7 separate regions of the Homo sapiens genome follow, and regions 1, 2, 3, 4, 5 and 7 are each linked to region 6. Evidence: promoter capture Hi-C in 16 types of primary human blood cells and fetal thymus (Javierre and others, 2016). All regions are on one chromosome and are shown on one strand. The core of a region is centred on a gene start or on the middle of the fragment in contact, and the rest is flanking DNA. Distances in the headings are between cores, read along the strand shown. Region 1 overlaps KCNQ5-DT (KCNQ5 divergent transcript). Region 2 holds the start of LINC01610 (long intergenic non-protein coding RNA 1610). Region 3 has its middle 11 kb from the start of SMAP1. Region 4 overlaps FAM135A (family with sequence similarity 135 member A). Region 5 overlaps SMAP1 (small ArfGAP 1). Region 6 holds the start of PHF3 (PHD finger protein 3). Region 7 holds the start of BAG2 (BAG cochaperone 2).

What was found. The method cuts DNA at HindIII sites, captures the fragments that hold promoters and counts their contacts. A CHiCAGO score of 5 or more calls a contact.
Region 1: a contact is called between a fragment that was not itself captured here and the fragment with the promoter of PHF3 in region 6, in 1 of 17 cell types (non-activated CD4 T cells). The highest score is 5.7, in non-activated CD4 T cells.
Region 2: a contact is called between a fragment that was not itself captured here and the fragment with the promoter of PHF3 in region 6, in 1 of 17 cell types (naive CD8 T cells). The highest score is 6.0, in naive CD8 T cells.
Region 3: a contact is called between a fragment that was not itself captured here and the fragment with the promoter of PHF3 in region 6, in 2 of 17 cell types (activated CD4 T cells and non-activated CD4 T cells). The highest score is 8.8, in activated CD4 T cells.
Region 4: a fragment that was not itself captured here is called in contact with the fragment with the promoter of PHF3 in region 6 in 4 of 17 cell types (non-activated CD4 T cells, total CD4 T cells, naive CD8 T cells and 1 more); the score reaches 13.9 in non-activated CD4 T cells.
Region 5: a contact is called between a fragment that was not itself captured here and the fragment with the promoter of PHF3 in region 6, in 1 of 17 cell types (non-activated CD4 T cells). The highest score is 6.7, in non-activated CD4 T cells.
Region 7: a contact is called between the fragment with the promoter of BAG2 here and the fragment with the promoter of PHF3 in region 6, in 4 of 17 cell types (non-activated CD4 T cells, naive CD8 T cells, total B cells and 1 more). The highest score is 27.4, in non-activated CD4 T cells.

What each region holds. Positions count from the first base shown.
Region 1 is chr6:72,617,391-72,620,090 of GRCh38, reverse strand. It overlaps KCNQ5-DT (KCNQ5 divergent transcript), which reads left to right. Exons shown (of 3, transcript NR_186827.1): 2 at 2,085-2,240. Among named protein-coding and RNA genes, the nearest start is that of KCNQ5, 3.3 kb to the left of the region's middle. The HindIII fragment of the contact is 1,020 bases long and covers 777-1,796 here.
Region 2 is chr6:70,392,463-70,395,162 of GRCh38, reverse strand. It overlaps LINC01610 (long intergenic non-protein coding RNA 1610), which reads right to left and starts at 961. Exons shown (of 4, transcript NR_125857.1): 1 at 891-961; 2 at 120-478. LOC105377847 (a long non-coding RNA gene) reads left to right here. Exons shown (of 5, transcript XR_942668.1): 2 at 1-144. The HindIII fragment of the contact is 3,343 bases long and covers 1-2,700 here.
Region 3 is chr6:70,655,072-70,657,771 of GRCh38, reverse strand. No RefSeq gene overlaps it. Among named protein-coding and RNA genes, the nearest start is that of SMAP1, 11 kb to the left of the region's middle. The HindIII fragment of the contact is 7,215 bases long and covers 1-2,700 here.
Region 4 is chr6:70,414,603-70,417,302 of GRCh38, reverse strand. FAM135A (family with sequence similarity 135 member A) reads right to left here. Exons shown (of 22, transcript NM_001162529.3): 2 at 1,927-2,012. Among named protein-coding and RNA genes, the nearest start is that of FAM135A-AS1, 2.0 kb to the right of the region's middle. The HindIII fragment of the contact is 548 bases long and covers 1,139-1,686 here.
Region 5 is chr6:70,678,913-70,681,612 of GRCh38, reverse strand. All of the region lies in intron 1 of SMAP1 (small ArfGAP 1), which reads right to left. Among named protein-coding and RNA genes, the nearest start is that of SMAP1, 12 kb to the right of the region's middle. The HindIII fragment of the contact is 4,869 bases long and covers 1-2,700 here.
Region 6 is chr6:63,634,397-63,637,096 of GRCh38, reverse strand. PHF3 (PHD finger protein 3) reads right to left here and starts at 1,295. Exons shown (of 16, transcript NM_001370348.2): 1 at 947-1,295. RefSeq lists silencers at 521-700, 1,141-1,500 and enhancers at 718-1,538, 2,070-2,607. The HindIII fragment of the contact is 3,030 bases long and covers 1-2,315 here.
Region 7 is chr6:57,170,919-57,173,618 of GRCh38, reverse strand. It overlaps BAG2 (BAG cochaperone 2), which reads right to left and starts at 1,293. Exons shown (of 3, transcript NM_004282.4): 1 at 809-1,293. The coding sequence starts at 921. It overlaps ZNF451-AS1 (ZNF451 regulatory antisense RNA 1), which reads left to right and starts at 1,406. Exons shown (of 4, transcript NR_110742.1): 1 at 1,406-1,545; 2 at 2,521-2,614. RefSeq lists an enhancer at 389-1,146 and silencers at 881-1,150, 1,201-1,280. The HindIII fragment of the contact is 6,211 bases long and covers 1-2,700 here.

The DNA of each region.
Region 1 (2,700 bases), core at 37-2,536, 9.0 Mb before region 6:
CGTGTGCCCGCTTTAAACGTCAAAATCTTGGCCTTTCTGCAAGCAGTAAAATGAAAACCACTTCCTCTTAACTTAGCTGTTTTCCTTGTTGCAGACTGCTACTTTCGCTGGGTAGGTAAAGTCACTTCCATCTCTCTGGCGCGGCTGGGCCCCGCGTGCAGGCAAGAAGTCTCAGGAAGGCAGGACACAGGGACACGTTTCCCTGGAAGACAGCCAGCTGTTTAATTTCTAAGTGATGCTTTTCTGGGGATGCAGCATTAGTTCTAGTGAAACTGTATTATTGATTAAGCAAATGCCATTTAAGCTTAATTAAAAAATAAAAAAGACCCGGTTACTGGTAGCCGTTTTGAGCTGCTGAGAAGGACCTTTCACTTATGTCTTCTAGAGTAACCGCCATTTGGATACACAGCCCAGAAAAAGAGGGCCTGCTCAAGTTTTCGCGGGTAGTGTGAGAGTTACTAGGAATCCAACAACCTGGCTTCCTAGTTCACTGTTCCTTCCACCAATCAATCTGCATCTCCAGCAGAGAATGGATAAAATAGCAAACAGTTCTGGGGTTTTGTATCAATCTCTGACTGCAACCATTGGGAAAGACTGGCTTAGCTGAAGTTCTAACCTTCCTACCTTTCAATGCCCAGAAAGAAAAAGCCAAGTGAGTCTGTGCCAACCTCTCCTACAAGAGCCTCTGTTTGCACCTTGCTTTATTTGCTACCTGCTAACTTCCCTCAAAAGACGGGAATTAACTTTGGAGAAAATAAGGTGTTTGCGATTAAGCTTTGTTGTTGTTCCTTTGAATACAGACGTTGCTAGGAAACTGCCTTTTATTAGTTCGTTTTGCTGAAATATTAAAATTCAAATTTAGAAAAGAGGATAGGCATACTGAGCAGTGAGTAAAACAGTGTATATTCTATGCATTATAATTACATTAGAGCATTATGAAGAGGTAAAGGCAAATGTTAACTGCTAGTGTAAAGTATGTGAGTTGATTGGCCCTCCCCATCTTTTGAGATGTGTTTGCTTTTACTCATTCATTCTCTTAAGATGCTTGCCTGAAATTTATGACCTTGGAAACATTTTCTGAAGTCTACATGGATATGGTTTCAACTGAACATAGTTTCTAGAGATATTTTATTTTAGTGTGTTTCTTTTTCTTTTTTGGAGATGGGGTCTTGCTGTTTTGCCCAGGCTGGTCTCCAACTCCTGAACTCAAGCAATTCTTCCACCTCAGCCTCTCAAAGTGCTGGGATTACAGGCGTGAGCCACTGCTCCTGGCCTCAGTGTGTTTTCTATCCCATTGTATTATTCTTCTGAAAGGTACTCTGAAATAATAATATTTGAAATTCTATACATGAGCTAGAGATGCACAAAAAAAAGACTTTCAATGCTCATAAGAGGGGCAGAATAACTGGATCTGGACGAGTTTCACAAAGCATCAATGACTCACTCTCCCACTTTCCTTCTTCTTCATGCCTACCCATTTTCTCATTTGCGCCTATCTCCTACTACAAGATACGCTCTTTAGTAGCCACTCTTTAGTGATATGGGTGCATATTGATCCATTGTGAAATTCCTGGGCTAATCAGACAGGGAATGATAAATAGAATTCTTAAACCCTATAATAAAAAGGAAATGCATGTGACATGAGTCTGCTTGGGAAAATAATGAAGGGGCAAATATAAAACTTAAAAAGTAGAAAATAATCAACAAAAAGAAAATGCACTAATGGAGAAATGGAAATTCATGATTGGCTGCTGTTTAATGATGTGCACAGGGCTCAGCAATTTGCCTTGTAAGCTTAGGGGTAGAACTGAAGTCTCCAGACTCCTGAATAGGAGTCCCTTTAAGCTACCACCCTTCTCCTTAGCTTTTATTTCCTTCCAATCAGGCCATAACCAAACCAATAAGCATAACAGCTATATTGCATTTCATAGATATCATAACCATTGGTTCAGTAAACATATTTATCTCCTGCTATTATTTTAAATGTATCAGCATAATATACCATTTGTTTTGATCAGTCATCAACAATTCTTATCTCTAAGAGTTATGATACAAACTTCTCACGCTCTTTCTTCAACAAGCAGAAATTAATCAGAGAACCCAGGACAACGTCAGAGATCATATGAGCCTCACCAGACTGCATGAGAGTCATAACACAGTAGGAGTCCCAGGCCTACCTCACATGGCAAATGGGACAGTGTTCTTCAGAACAACCTCTGCCCCAGGGATGCAGAAAGGAGGTGGGTGTGAATGAGTGTGGCTGTAAGGAGAGGCTGGTAGAGAAATAGTGCGGAAAGGGCTCAACAAGTTCTCACCATTTTTATTCCAGCAGCTAACAAAATTACTGTTTCTAGGAATTACTGAAATATTGTGCTGATCACAATTGTTGAAGCAAAATAATAGCAAATACTTATCATGTGTTTTGTATGTGTTAGGCACTGTGGTTTACAGTAATTATTTCAGGCCGGATGTGGTAGCTCATGCCTGTAATCCCAGCACTTTGGGAGGCCAAAGTGGGTGGATCACTTGAGATCAGGAGTTCAAGACCATCCTGGCCAACACAGTGAAACCCCGTCTCTACTAAAAAATAGAAAAATTAGCTGGGCATGGTGGCAGGTGCCTGTAATCCCAGCTACTCAGGAGGCTGAGGCATGAGAATCGCTTGAACCTGGGAAGTGGAGGTTGTAGTGAGCCAAGATG
Region 2 (2,700 bases), core at 75-2,574, 6.8 Mb before region 6:
GCCCTCAATGTAACTTTTTTTTTTTTTTGAGAGGGGTCATCCTCCAATCATTAACTACTTCTAATCTTCACTGCTACACAGAGTTTCCAATATTTAGCAACAGATGGCTTTGCTTTTACCTTATAGATGAGGCCAAAGCACCAGGTAGGTGGAAGGTTCTTGTATCGGTTCGAACCCCGACAGCGCGCCAACAGACAACACGAGGCAGTGGGGAGCAACATGCTGTTTTAATGAGCGCCTGGGTGCAGGCGTGCTGAGGCTGAAAATGGCATCAGCACCAAATGAGGATGGGGCAGGGGTTTTATAGTCTCCTGTAAACAGGAAGTGTCTCAGTCTGATGTAACTGCTACGTGGTACCTGGACGGCCTCTCTCTCGGTCTTCACAGGGTACATATCTTCCGGCCAGCTCTCTTCCTGCTTCTGCTATCTTGCTGACGCATGCTGCTAGCACAAGTGGCCTTGCACCTTGGGACTGGGCCTGAGGAGGGCGGAGTTATTCATTCCCTTAAACTTTCAGGCCCCGGGGAGAATCTTTCAGTAAGAGCTCTTTCAGCTTTACCAACTACAGTCTACACACTTAACCTGCTTCCACGCACACCCTCATCGTTCTCTTTCTCGGTGGAAAATATGTGCTTCCCTTGGCAAAGGCCAACCTGTTCATCTGTGCTCCTGAACACAGCCTCTCCAATGTACTTGTTATATATATATGTGTGTGTGTGTATATATACACAACTATATATATATATACGTATATACAACTGTATATGTGTGTGTATATATACACACAACTATTTATGTATATACATATATGTATATATCCCTCCCACCATGGGGTCTTCCCATTTTGCCCAAGCTGGTCTTGAACTCCTGAGCTCAAGTGATCCACTCACCTTGGGCTCCCAAAGTGCTGAGATTACAGGCATGAGCCACTGTGCCCAGCCTGTCCTTGTGCCTTTGATTCATCATTTATCCTCTCCTTCTTCTTTATTTTTCCACTGATCCTTTGTCACAGGCCTTAGTCTTCTGCCAGCTGATAAATGGGAATATTCCACAGGTTCAGTTCTCGCCCTTTTTCTTCTTTCATTATGTACATCACAAAGGAGATCTTATCCACATTCATGGCTTCTGCACACACATTAAAGCCATGTACACCTGCCTTCAGCCCTAGGTGAGTTCTAGGTGCCCACAGGACCTCTCTACCTATCTTCTCAAAGATAAGTCAATCTTAACATGTTCAAAATGAATCCATTATAATTGATGTATTAGTCTGTTCTCACACCGCTAATAAAGACATACCCAAGACTGGATAATTTATAATGGAAAGAGGTTTAATTGACTCACAGTTCAGCATAGCTGGGAGGCCTCAGGAAACTTACGATCATGGCAGAAGGGGAAGCAAACATGTCCTTCTTCACATGGTGGCAGCAAGGAGAAGTGCAGAGCGTTGGTGGAGAGCCCCTTATGAAACCACTAGATCTCGTGAGAACTAATTCACTATCACGAGAGTAGGATAGGGGAAATCATCCTCATGATTCAATTATCTCCACCTGGTCCTTCCCACGACACATAGGAATTACAGGAACTACAGTTCAAGATGAGGTTTGGGTGGGGACTATATCAATTGAGAATTAAAAAAAATCATTTCTTCTGTATTACCCTTGTTCTGTATTCTCTCTATAGTGAATGGCATTATGATTGTCACATCCTGAAACCTAGGAATCAACTCGTGTCTTCCCTGTCTCTTACTCTCTCACCTTCAGAGAATCACCAAGCTCTGTTGAACTTAATAATAATTGACAATGCTGAATATGAAAGGCATTTTTTAAAGAAGACTAAATGTATTTTCTCAATTTTCACAGTCACTGTGTTATGTGGGTGGCTAATATCACCTCCATTTTAAAATTAAGAAAATTGAGGCACCAAGAGGCAAAATAACTTGCTTTGGTCACACAGGTAATAAACGGCAGGGATGGGATCCAAATCTAGGCAGTTTACAGCGCTGGCCTCTTAACAACCATACCATGGTCGGCTTACTAAATGCCAGGATCTTAAATACCTCTTCAGTTCATTTCCTCCTATTCTTTCTCATTTTGGTAGAGTTGGTTCATGTGCTTCTTTTCTGCTGTGTAACTTCTTACAACCTGCTGCTCTAAATCCATTTTTAAGTTATCTTACTAATTAGCCTTCATCAACATTTTCAGGAATTTGGCTAAGCTATGTCTTTGTAATCTATAGATTTGAGATTTTGTTTCAAGAAAATTATATTCAATTATATATTTGAATTTTTCCCATTCCATATATTATTTTCTTCCATGAAAGTGATTATTTGTTTAATGTCCATACCACCTCCTTTCTTATTTTATCTCTGTTCTTTTCCAATTCGTTTTATGTTATTTACTCAAGGGCTTTCTTTTTGTCCTAGACTGTATTTTTATCCATATATATGTGTTACCATTTGTTGACTCTAATGAGAATTTCACCTCTGTAATAATTTCATCTTATGCTTCTATTCATCTCTGAGCTCCACACACCCACTGTTTATCTCCTGTTCTTGCTTCATCTCTCTTTTGATCGATCTCTTGTTATTCTTTCAGGATAATTTTTTTTTTTTTAAGGAAAGCCAACTTGCCTTTAGTTTCTTTGAGTCTTGGGAGAACTGTTTGTTTGAAATTGGCCTATTTTTCTATGAATAGGTCCTGA
Region 3 (2,700 bases), core at 139-2,638, 7.0 Mb before region 6:
TTTCATCCTGCTCTCTTGATCTTCACAGCTACTGTAGCTCCTGTTTTTTCTGAAGACTTAACTTTTTAGCTTTCCTTCAGATTCTTTGACTACCACCCATAAGTCTTCCAATGCATTCCTCTTTTGCTTGTTAAATTTTAAAAGTCATAGAACAGATTTATGTAGAGCACCAACATTATTGATAGTGAGCCATGCACCATTTGATGAAAGTAGAGGGGAATGTGCTATGGTCTGAATGTTTGTGTCCCCCTAGATTTTCATGTTGGAACATAACCCCCAATCTGATAGATGTGGAGCCTTTGAAGGTGATTAAGTCATCTGGACAGAGTCCTAATTAATGGTATTAGTGCCCTTCTAAAAGAGGCCCAAGGCCGGGCTCAGTGACTCACTCCTATAATCCCAGCACTTTGGGAGGCTCAGGTGGGTGGATCACCTGAGGTCAGGAGTTCGAGACCAGCCTGGCCAAAATGGTGAAACCCTGTCTCTACTAAAAATACGAAAATTAGCTGGGCATGGTGGTGAGCGCCTGTAATCCCAGCTACTTGGGAGGCTGAGGCAGGAGAATCGCTTGAACCCAGGAAGTGGAGGTTGCAGTGAGCTGAGATCACACCATTGCACTCCAGCTTAGGCAACAAGAGTGAGATTCTGTCTCAAAAAAATAATAAAAAATATAAAAATAAAAGAGGCCCAAGGGAGCTTGTTGAGCCCTTCCACCAACTGAGCAAGCAATAAGAAGGCCTCATCTATGAACCAGGGAATAGCTCCTCACTAGATACCAAATCTGCAGGTGCTTTGGTCTTGGTCTTCCCAGCCTCTAGAACTGTGAGCAATAAATTTTTGCTCTTTGTATGCCACCAAGTCTAAGATAGTTTGTTATAGATGCTCAAATGGACTAAGACAGCATGCTCTTTAAAAAGTTAGCTTCTTTTTCTGGTCTTTAAAGGAACTCATTTCTAGGCCTTTCTTCTAGGCCTTTGCAATTTGGTAACTTTGCTGGAATGAAACATTTTACACATGAAATTTTCCACCATTTTTCATTCTTGACCTTCTTACCAAAATAGTGTATATCATCTCAGTGATTCCAAACTAAAAGTAGCATAATTTTAGGAGCAAGACGGAAAGGAAATAGGCATAGGTTTATTTTAAATTGTTTAAAAATGTTATTTATTCATTTCCACCTTAGAATAGGCAGAGATTTTTTTAGGACACAAGATGCACTGACCATAAAAGAAAAAAAATTGAAATCAGACTTTATTAAAATTTAAAATTTCTGCTCTTCAAAAGACACCATTGAGAAAAAGGCAAAAGTCAGGCTATAGATTTGGAGAAAATATTTGTAATATGTGATAAATACAAAGGACTTATTTAGAGAATATATAAGGAGCACCTGCAAGTCAATAATAAAAAGGCAACCCATTAAAATGGCAAAAGACTTAAAGAGATATCTCAAAAAGATACATGAAGAACCAGTAAGCTCCTGAGACATCATTAGTAATTAGGGAATTGTACAATAAAAACTAATGAAATGCCACTTTATACCTACTAGAATGACTAAAATAAAATGAATGATAATATCAAATGGTAAGTAGGTAGTGAGGCAACTAGTATTCTCATTGCTGTTGGGAGCATAAAATTTTATAACCAGTTTGTCAGTTAAAGTTAAACATATACTTCTCCTGTGACCCAGAAATTCCACTCTGAGAAATGAAAAAAATATATTCATAAAAAGACTTATATAAGAATGTTGATAATAGCTTTAGTCACAGTAGTCAAAACCTGTAAACAACTTAAATGTTCATAAACAAGAGAATGGATAAACAAATAATGATATATTTATGCAATAAAATATTACTTATCAATTAAAAAGACAAACTAGGCCAGGCGCAGTGGCTCACGCCTGTAATCCCAACACTTTGGGAGGCCGAGGCAGGCAGATCACCTGAGGTCGGGAGTTCGAGACCAGCCTGACCAACGTGGAGAAACCCTTTCTCTATTAAAATTACAAAATTAGTTTCTGTATTGGGGAGAGGGGTTGGAAACACATAATATTTATGTTCAAGGAAGTAACAAAAGACTTGTATTGATACTGAGACCACAAAGGGCTGCATGGTACAAGGCCAGGCTGGGGAGGTAAGCAGAGATCAAACCATACAGGGCTTTTCAGTGGTCATAAAAGCCCACCACTCAGCTCTTCTGCCACAGGGGAGCACAGGCAACTGACAGTCTGAGCCACTGCTCTCCTGAATCCGCCACTGTGTTCGCACCAAGGCCATGCTTCCCCTGGGCTGCTCCCAGCCAATAACGAGCATGCACTGGTAGGGAGGGTGAGGGAAGGCAACTGATATAAGACAAGAGACTCCTTTAACAGGCAATGTTGCCTCAAAGACCCCTGCTGACCTGGCCAAAACTTTCTCAGAACTTTGCTGCCTCTTCCTACCCAATCTGAGCCTCTTCCTACCCAAATCCTCCTTCCTGCCCCGTCTCTTCCACAGGTGTTAGACCTGCCTCACAGTCTGAAAGTTCTTCTGCATTCTCTTTCTCCTGTTTATTTTTATAGACATCCCCCCTAATAAACATCTTTCAGGTCTAATCCCATCTTAGCATCTGCTTCTTGGAGAACTTGAATTAACACAGCTTTGTTAAATAAGATAAATTGCAATTAGGGAATTACCTTTATACCAAGAGTAATAGGAAGTTATT
Region 4 (2,700 bases), core at 163-2,662, 6.8 Mb before region 6:
GGTAGAGGCAATACAGTGGGACTCTGTCAAAAAAAAAAAAAAAGTCCCAGTCTATTATCAATATATTTATAACATAATTTAGAAATATGTTCTATATTCTGTATGATCTCATAGAGACCTAATGCCATAAAAGGAAATATGCTATAATTTTCTCAGAATGGTTTCTCGGTTGAGAGATAGTTTATCAAATTTTTTTCATCAAAATAAGAACTACCTGAAGGGTTAGTTACTCAAGTAGGAGATGTCTCTTAATGGTATAATATGCCTGATACTTTTACATTTCTATTAGGAAAAAAGAAGCTAATATTTCTTCTAAATTTAGCACATTATCAATAACCAAGTATGTACCTGTTAACAACTGCCAATCTTTAAAAATAAAATGTGAACCTACTGTGGAGTTGTTTCACCTTATTCCTTCTGAAAAACCTAGACCTGCCTAATCACTTATGCTTTGTAACTTTTCTGAAAAACCACTGAGTCCATTAAGAATGATTTCTTCTATATTACCATTCTGCTTCTTATTCCTCTTTCTTTCTTTTAATTAGGAGAGGGTTTCGCTCTGTTGCCCAGGCTGGTCTTGAACTCCTGGCCTCAAGAGATCCTCCTGCCTCAGCCTCCCCAAGTGCTAGAATTACAGGCATGAGCCACCACACCCCACCTTATTCCTAGTCATCTCTAAACCTTCTTCCTGACAAACAACTCATGAAAAAACACTTCAAATCTATATGCCCTCAGCTCCATCCATTTATTTAAATGCACACATGTACATATAAAAAACTCAATGTTAAAGCACTTTTTCCTCAATACCTAGAATCAAAGCAAAGGAAATCCTTGGCTTTTCTACCCCCTAAACAGCCCTCACAACAAGGATTTAATGTAAACAAAATAAAGATTTTATTTAATGTAAACAAAATAAAAATATAAAACAGAAAATTAAGGATTAACTAAAGATATAGGTGTAACTCTTACATTTCCTTTCAGTGTCAACTCGTGGCAAACAAAAGGAATATCTGTTTTACAAACTGAATGCTGCAGTGTCTGTTTCACTGTGTATGAACATTAACTAATGTGTGAACATTAGTTAATGTACTAATTAGAAAACTCTAGTACATTAGAACTGCTGCTTCTCAAGGAAGCTTGCACTTCTTTCAAAGCCAGGTCATTTTATTTGGTACATCTATCTAGTACATTAGAAAAGTCTAATAGAGTGCTAGTCCACAGTTCACCAGCATTCTACTAGACTTTTCACAGAAGTCTGAAATTTAAAAAAGAAATGTTTGATTTGGGATTTAAGCAGTCAATTATACTCTTACTACACAGTCTAAAATTAAAGAGATAAAAACTAAGTATTTATATAGCAATTTTTGTCTGCGGTGGCCCTAAGCATGTTTAAATGATTAGGGCTTGCTTTGCTATTAATTACTTTACAGCTGGAGATACTGAGATACACAGGTTAAGTGGGTTCTACAAACTAATGTCATGAGTCATCATAAGAGTTCATATATTCTGACTAGAAATTCTAGTCTTCTGCCTGCTGTCCACCACAAATCCCTATTTAATTTATAAGAGCACAGGAACCAACTCACTAAAAATACCAGCAAGAATTTGTAGGCATTTACTTTTTTAAAATGAATGTTTACCTAAAAATAAAAAGACCTGGCTTTTTATTTGAAGGAAGTGCAAGCTTCCTTGAGAAGCAGCAGTTTCTTTATTTGCATTTGAAAAATCATTTTTAAAAAATCTTAAAAGCTGATGAGTGCATCACCTCTTACCATACACAATTGCTAGTTCTTCTCAAAGAAGTGTGGTTTGATGACACCAGAGCCTCCTAGTTTTACTTTAAATCACTTTGAATAAGGAACTACACTTTTTTTTTTGCCTTGGTATTTCCCTTCTTAAAACAGAAACAGAAAACTTAATTCCTACCTGACACAGACAACATAAGGAAGAATTTGTTTGTGGACTGCTTTGAGATTCCAGAACCAAATACATAATCCAGTTGATCTTCAACCCTACAATAAAGACAAACTTCACTAAACATAATTGCTTCAGCAGATGCCTTCAAAATAAGATACTATACCATTATTTATGGAAAGAGAAGTTTTATTTAAGCCAAATCTTGATCACAATGCAATGGAGGAAAAAAATTACAAAACCGTTTAGAAAGTTCTTCTGCTCAATTAAAAAATTTAATACTTCTCACGTATGTCTCCTATAAGCACACTAATTCTAAAGGTAGCAGAAATTGTATGCATTTATTAGAGAACAGAGACTCTCAGGAAAATTATGCAATCAATTGCAATAGCAAATGTATAAAACAAATTAATAATACATTTTAAAAAAGAAATTCTGTTAAATTTCATTTAAGATTAGTTCTTGGACAGCTACACCTAATGGAGGACAAGAAAATTTCCAAATTTTAAGTGTATGTTTGTAGGTCAACCTTTAACAAGTCTTAACCCATTATAGTTTCATTTAGTCTGTACTCAAGTTGCTTTCCCAGGCATGCCAGGTAAACATAATTCTTAAAAATTAAAGCTTTAATCAGTAAGTGTAACCGATTTGTTGCTACTGTCACTCTTTTGATGATACTTCCACCAACCGGTAAAGAAAGAAGAAATGTTATTAAACTGGAAGATGAACTAGAAACATTGAGTGGATACCTAGCTTAGGCAGAAAGCAGCAAGGACTAGAAGGGTA
Region 5 (2,700 bases), core at 186-2,685, 7.0 Mb before region 6:
ACTTCTGCAAAATCTTTACTCAGACCATTAAATTTATTTTCAAGGAAGATGAAAATAACTTTAGGAGTGTATATGTTACAAAAATTCAAATAAAAGAATTGAGAAACTGCTACATAATCTACAGTAACTGTTAACATCAGCGAAAGAAGTAAACAACATATTTGCATGTTTTTTGTTTTTGTTTTTGAGACAGGGTCTTACTCTGTTGCCCAGGTTGGAGTGCAGTGGCACAATCACGGCTCACTGCAGCCTTGACCTCCTCAGGAGATCCTCCTACCCTAGCCTCCCAAATAGCTGGCACCACAGGCACGTGCCACCACACCCAGCTATTTTTTTTTAATTTTATTTTCACTTTTTGTAGAGACAGAGTTTCGTCATTTTGCCAAGGCTGGCCTTGAACTTCTGGGCTCAAGTGAGTCACCTGCGTTGGCCTCCCAAAGTGCTGGGATTAGAGGTGTGAGCCACCATTCCTAGCCTATGCATTGTATTTTTTTTTTTTAAATAAACTCCCTCATCCCGATCCTTAGCAACCACTGACCTGTTTTCTGTCCCTATAAGTTTTATCCTTTTATTTAATAGAAATCCGTGTAATTATGGCCAGGCGCAGTGGCTCACAACCGTAATCCCAGCACTGTGGGAGGCTAAGGCGGGCAGATCACCTGAGTCAGGAGTTCGAGACCAGCCTGGCCAACATGGCAAAACCCCGCCTCTGCTAAAAATACAAAAATTAGCTGGGTGTGGTGGCACGTGCCTGTAATCCCAGCTACTTGAGAGGCTGAGGTAGGAAAATCACTTGAACCCGGGAGGCAGAGGCTGCAGTGAGCCGAGATCATACCACTGCACTCCAGCCTGGGAGACACAGTGAGACTCCAACTCAAAAAAAAAAAAAAAAAAAAAAAACAGGAAATCCATGTAATTGTAATGTATACTCTGTTGTCTTTTGTGTATGGATTCTTTTGTAAATATAATGTTTTTATGACTCATCCACTAGTTCATTGCTTTGTACTGTAAAACATTATTCCACTGTACGGACGCACTATTTTCTTTATCCATTCGTCAACTGATAAAACATTTGAATTGTTTCCAGTGTTTGGCTATTATGAATAATGCTGCTATGAACATTCAAGTGCTTGTTTTACTTTGTCTTATTATTAAGTTGCATTATTTCTTTAGATATTCTGAATAAAGGTCCTTACCAGATAAAATATTTTTCCCAGCCATCTATGATTTTTAAGTGTCTCTTGAAAAGCAAAAGTTTTTAATTTTAATGAAGTTCATTTTCTCAATTTTAACTTTATGGAATATAATTTTGTGTCCTATCCAAGAATCCTCTGCTTAATTCAAGGTCCCAGAGATTTTCCCCCATGTTTTCTTCTAGCAGTTTTATAGTTTTAGCTCTTAAATTTAGTTTTATGATCCATCTCAAATTAGTTTTTGTGAATGGTCTGAGGTAAGGTTCAAGGTATTATACATTCTGTTGTTGTTGTTGTTGTTGTTGTTGTTGTTGTTGAAAAGACTATCCTTTCTCTCCATTGAGTTACCTTGGCACTTCTGTTAAAAACTGACCATAATATGTGAGTCTATTTCTGGACTACGTATTATGTTCCACAGATAACTATAGCTTTTTAATAACTGTTAAAGGCAGGTTGTGTAAGACCTCAAACATTCTTTTTGTTTTTCAATGTTTTGATTTTGGAAGGTCCCTTGCATTTCATTAAAAATTTTAGAATCAGCTTGTCAGTTGCAACAAAAAAAGCCTTCTGGGATTCTGACTGGAATAATGTTGAATTTAGAGACTAATTTGGAGAGAACTGACATCTTAAAAATATTGAGTCTTCTAATCCATGAGCATGATATCTCTGATACCTCTCTCCACTTCTTTAGGTACAGTATTCATTAATTTCTCTCAGCTATCTTCTGTAGTTTTTGGTATACAGGTCTTGCACGTATTTTGTTAAATTTATCCCACAGTTTTCATATTGTTATGCTATTATAAATCATAATTTTTATTTCAACTTCCAATTATTTGTTGCTAGTATATAGAGTTACTTTTTCTATAGTCACTTTATTTCTGTAAACTTAATAAACTCAATTATTCATTCTAATAGCTTTTCTATAAATTTCTTGGGATTTCCTACATAAATGATCCCATTGCAAAGAGATTGTTAAATGACTCTTGCATGCATGTATTTTTAAATAGGTCCTGTGAGAAAGGCTAATTTAAGTAGTACTTCATCATCCCATACCATCTTAAATACACCCAACTCTGTACCACTTATAAAAATCTAGATTCTGGCCAGGCGCGGTGGCTCAAGCCTGTAATCCCAGCACTTTGGGAGGCCAAGGCAGGCGAATCACTCGAGGTCAGGGGTTTGAGACCAGCCTGGCCAACATAGCAAAACTCCGTCTCTACCAAAAATACAAAAATTAGGCGGGTGTGGTGGCACACACCTGTAAGCTACTCCAGAGGCTGAGACAGGAGAATCGCTTGAACCGGGGAGGCAGAGGATGCAGTGAGCCGAGATCATGCCAATGCACTCCAGCTTGGGCGACAGAGTAAGACTCCATCTCAAAAAAACAAAAAAAAAAAAACAAAAAATCTAGATTCCATATATAATTTTTATCACAAATCCACTTTGTTAGGCAGAATAATGGCCCCCAAAGAAGTCCTGTTCTATCCTTGGAATCTCTGTGAATAAC
Region 6 (2,700 bases), core at 46-2,545:
TATTAAAGCAGTGTTGCCACTTAACATTAATCCATGAACATATTCTACGCGTGACTACTGGAAAGCACTAATAACCACCCCAATCTAGTCTCTAGGAATTGGCATTTAAAAGCCCAAAGATGGAAAAAGGTCACCTAACCCGGCAACACATCCTGAGGGAAAGGAGGGACACAGGACTCCGTGCGCGATATCAACATTCTCTTCCTTTCTACTCTCCGCACCGCCCCCGCCCCCCGTGTCAGGTGATCAGTTATTTAGCACCATTAACACGTACGTATCGACAAGTGGTTCATTAAATTACATGTATTATCGGAAGGCAAGAGTCTAGGCTTCTCATTTCAAACTAAGCAAAAGGAGTCCACAGTTTGAGTCCCGGGCACAAAAGCGCGCGGTAACTGGAGGATAAATGGAAGAGCAACTCTCATCTCCAAAAAGCAGCAGCAGGGAGCAGCCTAGCAGCCAGGGCCAGTCCCAGTTTCCCGAAACCAAGGCCCAAAGCTCCATGCTGGGGCTCCCTGAGAAGGAAGAGGCCCCAACGGCCGGATCCGGGGGCCTGCGAGACGGGCCTTCCAGGCAGCGCCCGCCGTGCCTCGGGCCTGCGCGCCCGCGCCTCAGCGGCGGCGGGGCGCCCTCGCAGCAGACGGCTGGGTACCAGTGGTCGGGAGAGAGGCCGTGGTCCCGACCCTCCGCCTGGCGACCGCGTCGCTGCGACTCCCTCCCCAGCCCGCGGTCCAAATGGTCCACAGGCGCCAGCGGCGCGGCCCAGGTAGGCCGAGGACGTTGCGCAAGAGGCCCGAGAGGCGATCTCTCGGCTGCGCGGGAGAAAAGCGCGGAGAGTCCGCCGCGGGAGGGGCGGAGAGGCCCGCGGAGGCGCTGTGCGTGTGGAAGGGGATGGGGGAGGGGAGGATTGCCCGTCTCCCTGGCCGCGGCCACAGCCGCAACTCACCCAGCTCCGCCAGACGAGCGCTACCACTGGCAGCAAGAGGAAGATGGTGGACGCTGCCGCCGCCGAAGAGGAGGAGGAGGGGGCCCGGTGGGTGCCGCGGAGAGGGGGTACGCGCAGGACGTCGGCGTCGCTGCCACAGCCTCTTTTCCTCCTGGGACCAAATGGCTGCTGCTGACGACACTATTCTTGGCTTCCGCGCCGCCCTCCTAATCCTCGTTGCAGCCGCCGCCGCCCTGAGCCCGAAGGTCGCTTGCCGCGTGGGGACGGTGCGACGGCGCGAGACCCCGCAGCCATCGGCGTGCGGCGGCGGCGCGGGAGCTGGAGAGGGGCCGTGTCACGTGACCCCACTGTTTACCGTTCCGGGGGCCGCGGCCTGCGTCGCTGCCGCGCCTGCGCGCTTTAGGGCCTCGAGCGCCGCGCCTCCGTGGGGCCCCGGGCTGCAGCGCTTCCCGGCGTTGCCGCGCCCCTCCCTGTCTTCGGAGGACGCGGCACCGCCTGCGGGCTTCTAGCTCACACCTCCGCGCCGCCGGGAGGGGCGAATCAGAGGAGCGCTTTTTCTCGACCGTAGTAAGCACTAAGGCTTCACAGTTAATATAATATTGATGCGCAGCTCCCCAACCCCAGGTACTTTTTATTAATTGACTGTGAGTTCAAGAATGGTAGAATAGGATGGAGTAGATGAGCCCTCTGCCCAAATATCTGTGCTGGCTCGGCACAGCAGCCTTACCATTAACTACCTCCGTTACCCTCACCCTACATGGCTGATCTACCTCAGGACTCAAATTGCTACCTCCAAGAAACATTCTTGGTATCCAGTAAGCAGTCTTCAGAATGTGGTCCCAGGTTTCCCTGAGGGGTCGCCAAGACCTTTCAGTAGAGCCTCCATTCCTTTGCCAGGAGCATGTGTCTAAGGCCAAATTTTCTTCCCACCCTTCAACCAAAACAGCATATAGCAGCTGATTCAATGCAGAAACAGATAAGAGAATCCAGCCATCTTCTATTAAGCCAGACATTGAGGAAATCTGCAGAAATTTTAGATATCACCCTTTTATTAATTTGGAAAATATGCTTTTCATAAATACATTATTTGTGGTAACAAATATTGTGTAGAGGTCCAGAGACAAAAAAAGTTTGAGACCCACTGGTCTGCTTCCACAGACACTTGAGCTAACCCCTATCTCAGCCCTTAATAAGCGCTGTGAAGTAATTGTTGCTTGTCAGTCACTCCAACCAAAAGGAGCTACTTAGGGACAGGGTTTGTGGCTTTTATCTACAGGGACTATTACAGTATTCAGCCAGTACCTGCTGAGCACCTTACTGTGTGGTCTGCACTGTTCTAAAACCTTTACAGTACTTGTTGATTTAAGCTTTAGACCAACCGCAGCCCACATTGTAAGATTAGTGCAGGGTGGAAGAATAAGTCACAGGCATGTGGTGAAGATCTGTTCTTTCCTCTCTCTAGTCTTCTGATATTTTAAGCACTCTTAATAGCAAATGCTCTTCTACAAAGGAAGTTTGGGTTGTCCTGATTCCACTGGATTCTTAAGAGTTTCACCCCCTGTCTTGACTAATCAATCCCTCAAGACTTTGTTTTACAATCTTTTTGTAATGTGTTTTTGAGAAAGGAAAATAGAAATGAGTAATTTTTTTTTTTAATTCTCACTTGGGATGTCTGGGATGAATTATAAAAACAAGCCTAATGTTATTCTTACTCTTCTGGTGGATCTCAGTGTGACGTTTTAAAAGGGCGTTCA
Region 7 (2,700 bases), core at 44-2,543, 6.5 Mb after region 6:
AATCTATTAACATTAAATTGTTTAGAAATTCTATACAAGTCTACTACTGTATTACCAAATAAATTCTTAAGCAAGAAAAGGGGAAAACTATCTTTTCATGCTTTCAGGCCAGTAACTAGCACTTAGTCTTCTATGTAGGGAGGTGCCCAATAAATACCGAGAGACGAACGGAACCGCTGAATCCCGTCCGCGAGGTTAGGGGAGAAACAGAAGCGGCAACGTCTCTGCTGCACGAAGCACCCGGTAACTTACTGCCTACCCCTCACTCCTGTCTAATCTTTGCTCTCAATGGATTGCTGGGTTGGTTTTGTTTTATTCATTTTTGTTCTGAAGCAAGGAAACTTAACTTCACGTGGAGGGCCACTGTAAACTGCTGCCTCCCTTAAAAAATGCATAACGAGAAGAGTAAGTTAAAACGTTTGGGGCCACACAGAAGGTTCTAGAAGTTCTGCAGACCCAAGCTGCCACAGTCCTTAATCGCATGGAATCTCACTGTAACTTTTATCTCCTCTGATTTTTTTCCGCTCCCTAACACCTAGGTAAATTAATCAAAGTGTGGCCACCGATAACGCCCTCACAGGTTTAGCTTAAATCGAATGCGTTTTCTCTCGGACTAGGGGAGATAATCCAAGAAACAAACAAAACTACACCACGTCCATCCACAACAAATCTCAACAAGCAACTTCGGTTGCCGCAGCCTCACTGTGCCCCAGGCCCCGGCCCGCCACACGCGGCCTCCGTCCGCTAACCGCCCGCGAACCGCCCGCGCGGCGAGCAGAACGCCCGAGACCGCCCGCCCGGAGCTCACCTGAGCTCCAGCTGGTCCAGGCTCTCCAGCAGGCGGCTGGAGCGGTCAGCCATGGAGGAGGAGCGGCAGAAGCGCCCCTCGTTGGCTTTAGCGTTGATCTTCGCCTGAGCCATCTAAGCCTCCGACGCGGGGTAGCCAAGAGGTCACCGGCCCCTCCGGCGGCAGCGAGTGGAGCGCTCCTTGGGCTGCAGGCGTCGCCGTCACCACGCGGGCGCCCGCCCTCCCTCTGACGCCCGCGGGGGCAACCCGGGAGGACTCGCCGACACCGCGGCTGCAGCGTAGCCAAAGAAGGGCAGGCGCGGCGCCCGCGGGGCTCGGGGACGCCGGGCCTGGGAGGGGGCTGCAGCGGCTGGAGTTAGAGGTTCGCGAGCCACACGGGCTCGAGGATGGGCCGACAGGGGCTCGGGCCTGGGGAGCGCAAGTCTCTGAGGCACGGGAGGGGCGGACGCAGAGACCGAGCGCCTAATGTGGCTAGCGGATCGTCTGCTCCCCGGACCCAGGAACTACCCGAAGCCCGCGCGGACCCACAGACCACCCCCAGCTCCGCCCCGCGAGGCCCCGCCTCTTCATGCAACCTAAAAGTAACCAACTCCCCCCACGCGAAGGTTCCTATCGGTCGACGGGCTGTGGGTGTATTGCTCAGTGACGGCTTCGTTTAGTTTCTCCCAGCACCCATAATTCAAAGCAAGAACAACGACATTATGGGGAGAAAACGTCCTTTTGTGAAACAGAAGGCAGTAAGTACAGCTCGTAGGCAGCCCACACTCACCTGACCTTCCTGTTACCACTTTATACTGAGATGAGAGTAATGAAAGCCCGGACAACACTGAAGCTATGAAGTAAAAAAGAAAAAGCTACTCCATCTTTCCCTGTCTAGCTAGATGTGGGAAGCAAAGTGAATTTACTTCATTTTTACCATTCTAATTTTCTTTTGTTTTTGAGATGGGGTCTAACTGTCGCCCACGTTGGAGTGTAGTGGCGCGATCACGACTTACTGCAGCCTCGACCTCCCGGGTTCAAGCGGTCCTCCCACCTCAGCCTCCCAAAGTGCTGGGATTACAGATGTGAACCACCACGCCTGGCTTAATGAAGGGGTTTTAAATTTTTGCTATTAAAATTATTCCTGTTGAGCGAGCCGAGATCTCGCCACTGCACTCCAGCCTGGGCGATAGAGCGAGACCTTGTCTCAAAAAAATAAATAAATAAATAAATATTCTGAGTGAAATAATTGGCATTAAAAAGTCCTCAACTTTTAAAAATCCTGTTAACAAAAAAGATGCAGTAGGCCTCTAGGTCAGGCACCAGCTGTCGGTAAAAGACGGAATAGAGCTGAGGATACAAAGATTAGTCTACTTAAAAAGTTAGGCTTTAGTCCCCTCTCCTGATAGCTCTATGCCTCTCATTGCAAGGATGACAATGTACAGGGCACAGAAAATGATAGATAATAATAGTTTAAAGCTGAGCCACCACCTTTAATCAGAGATCAAAGCCATTTAAATACTTGAACAGAGTTGAAGCCCTTAAGGCTGGATCCCAATTCCCTCTGAACTCATTTTAAATCCTAATTAACTCTTGGGGTAGGGGATTATTTGACCTTATTAAAAATAACTTTATCATGACACAAACGAAAACAAAACACATTTTGTGAGTGGTTTGAAAGTCTATCAAGTGACTTTAGAATCATCCTGAACTCTTTTTCTCTCTTATCCTAGATCCACACCATTAGTAAACCCCATCAATTTTGCCTTCAGAATATATCCAGATTCTTCCCAATTCTACCGCCACCATTCTGGTTCAAGCTACCTGGTGAGTTTGCACCTGGAATACTACAATACCTTCCTCTCTGGTCTCCCTGCTTCTACTCTTGCCTCTCATGTACATGTTATCTCAGT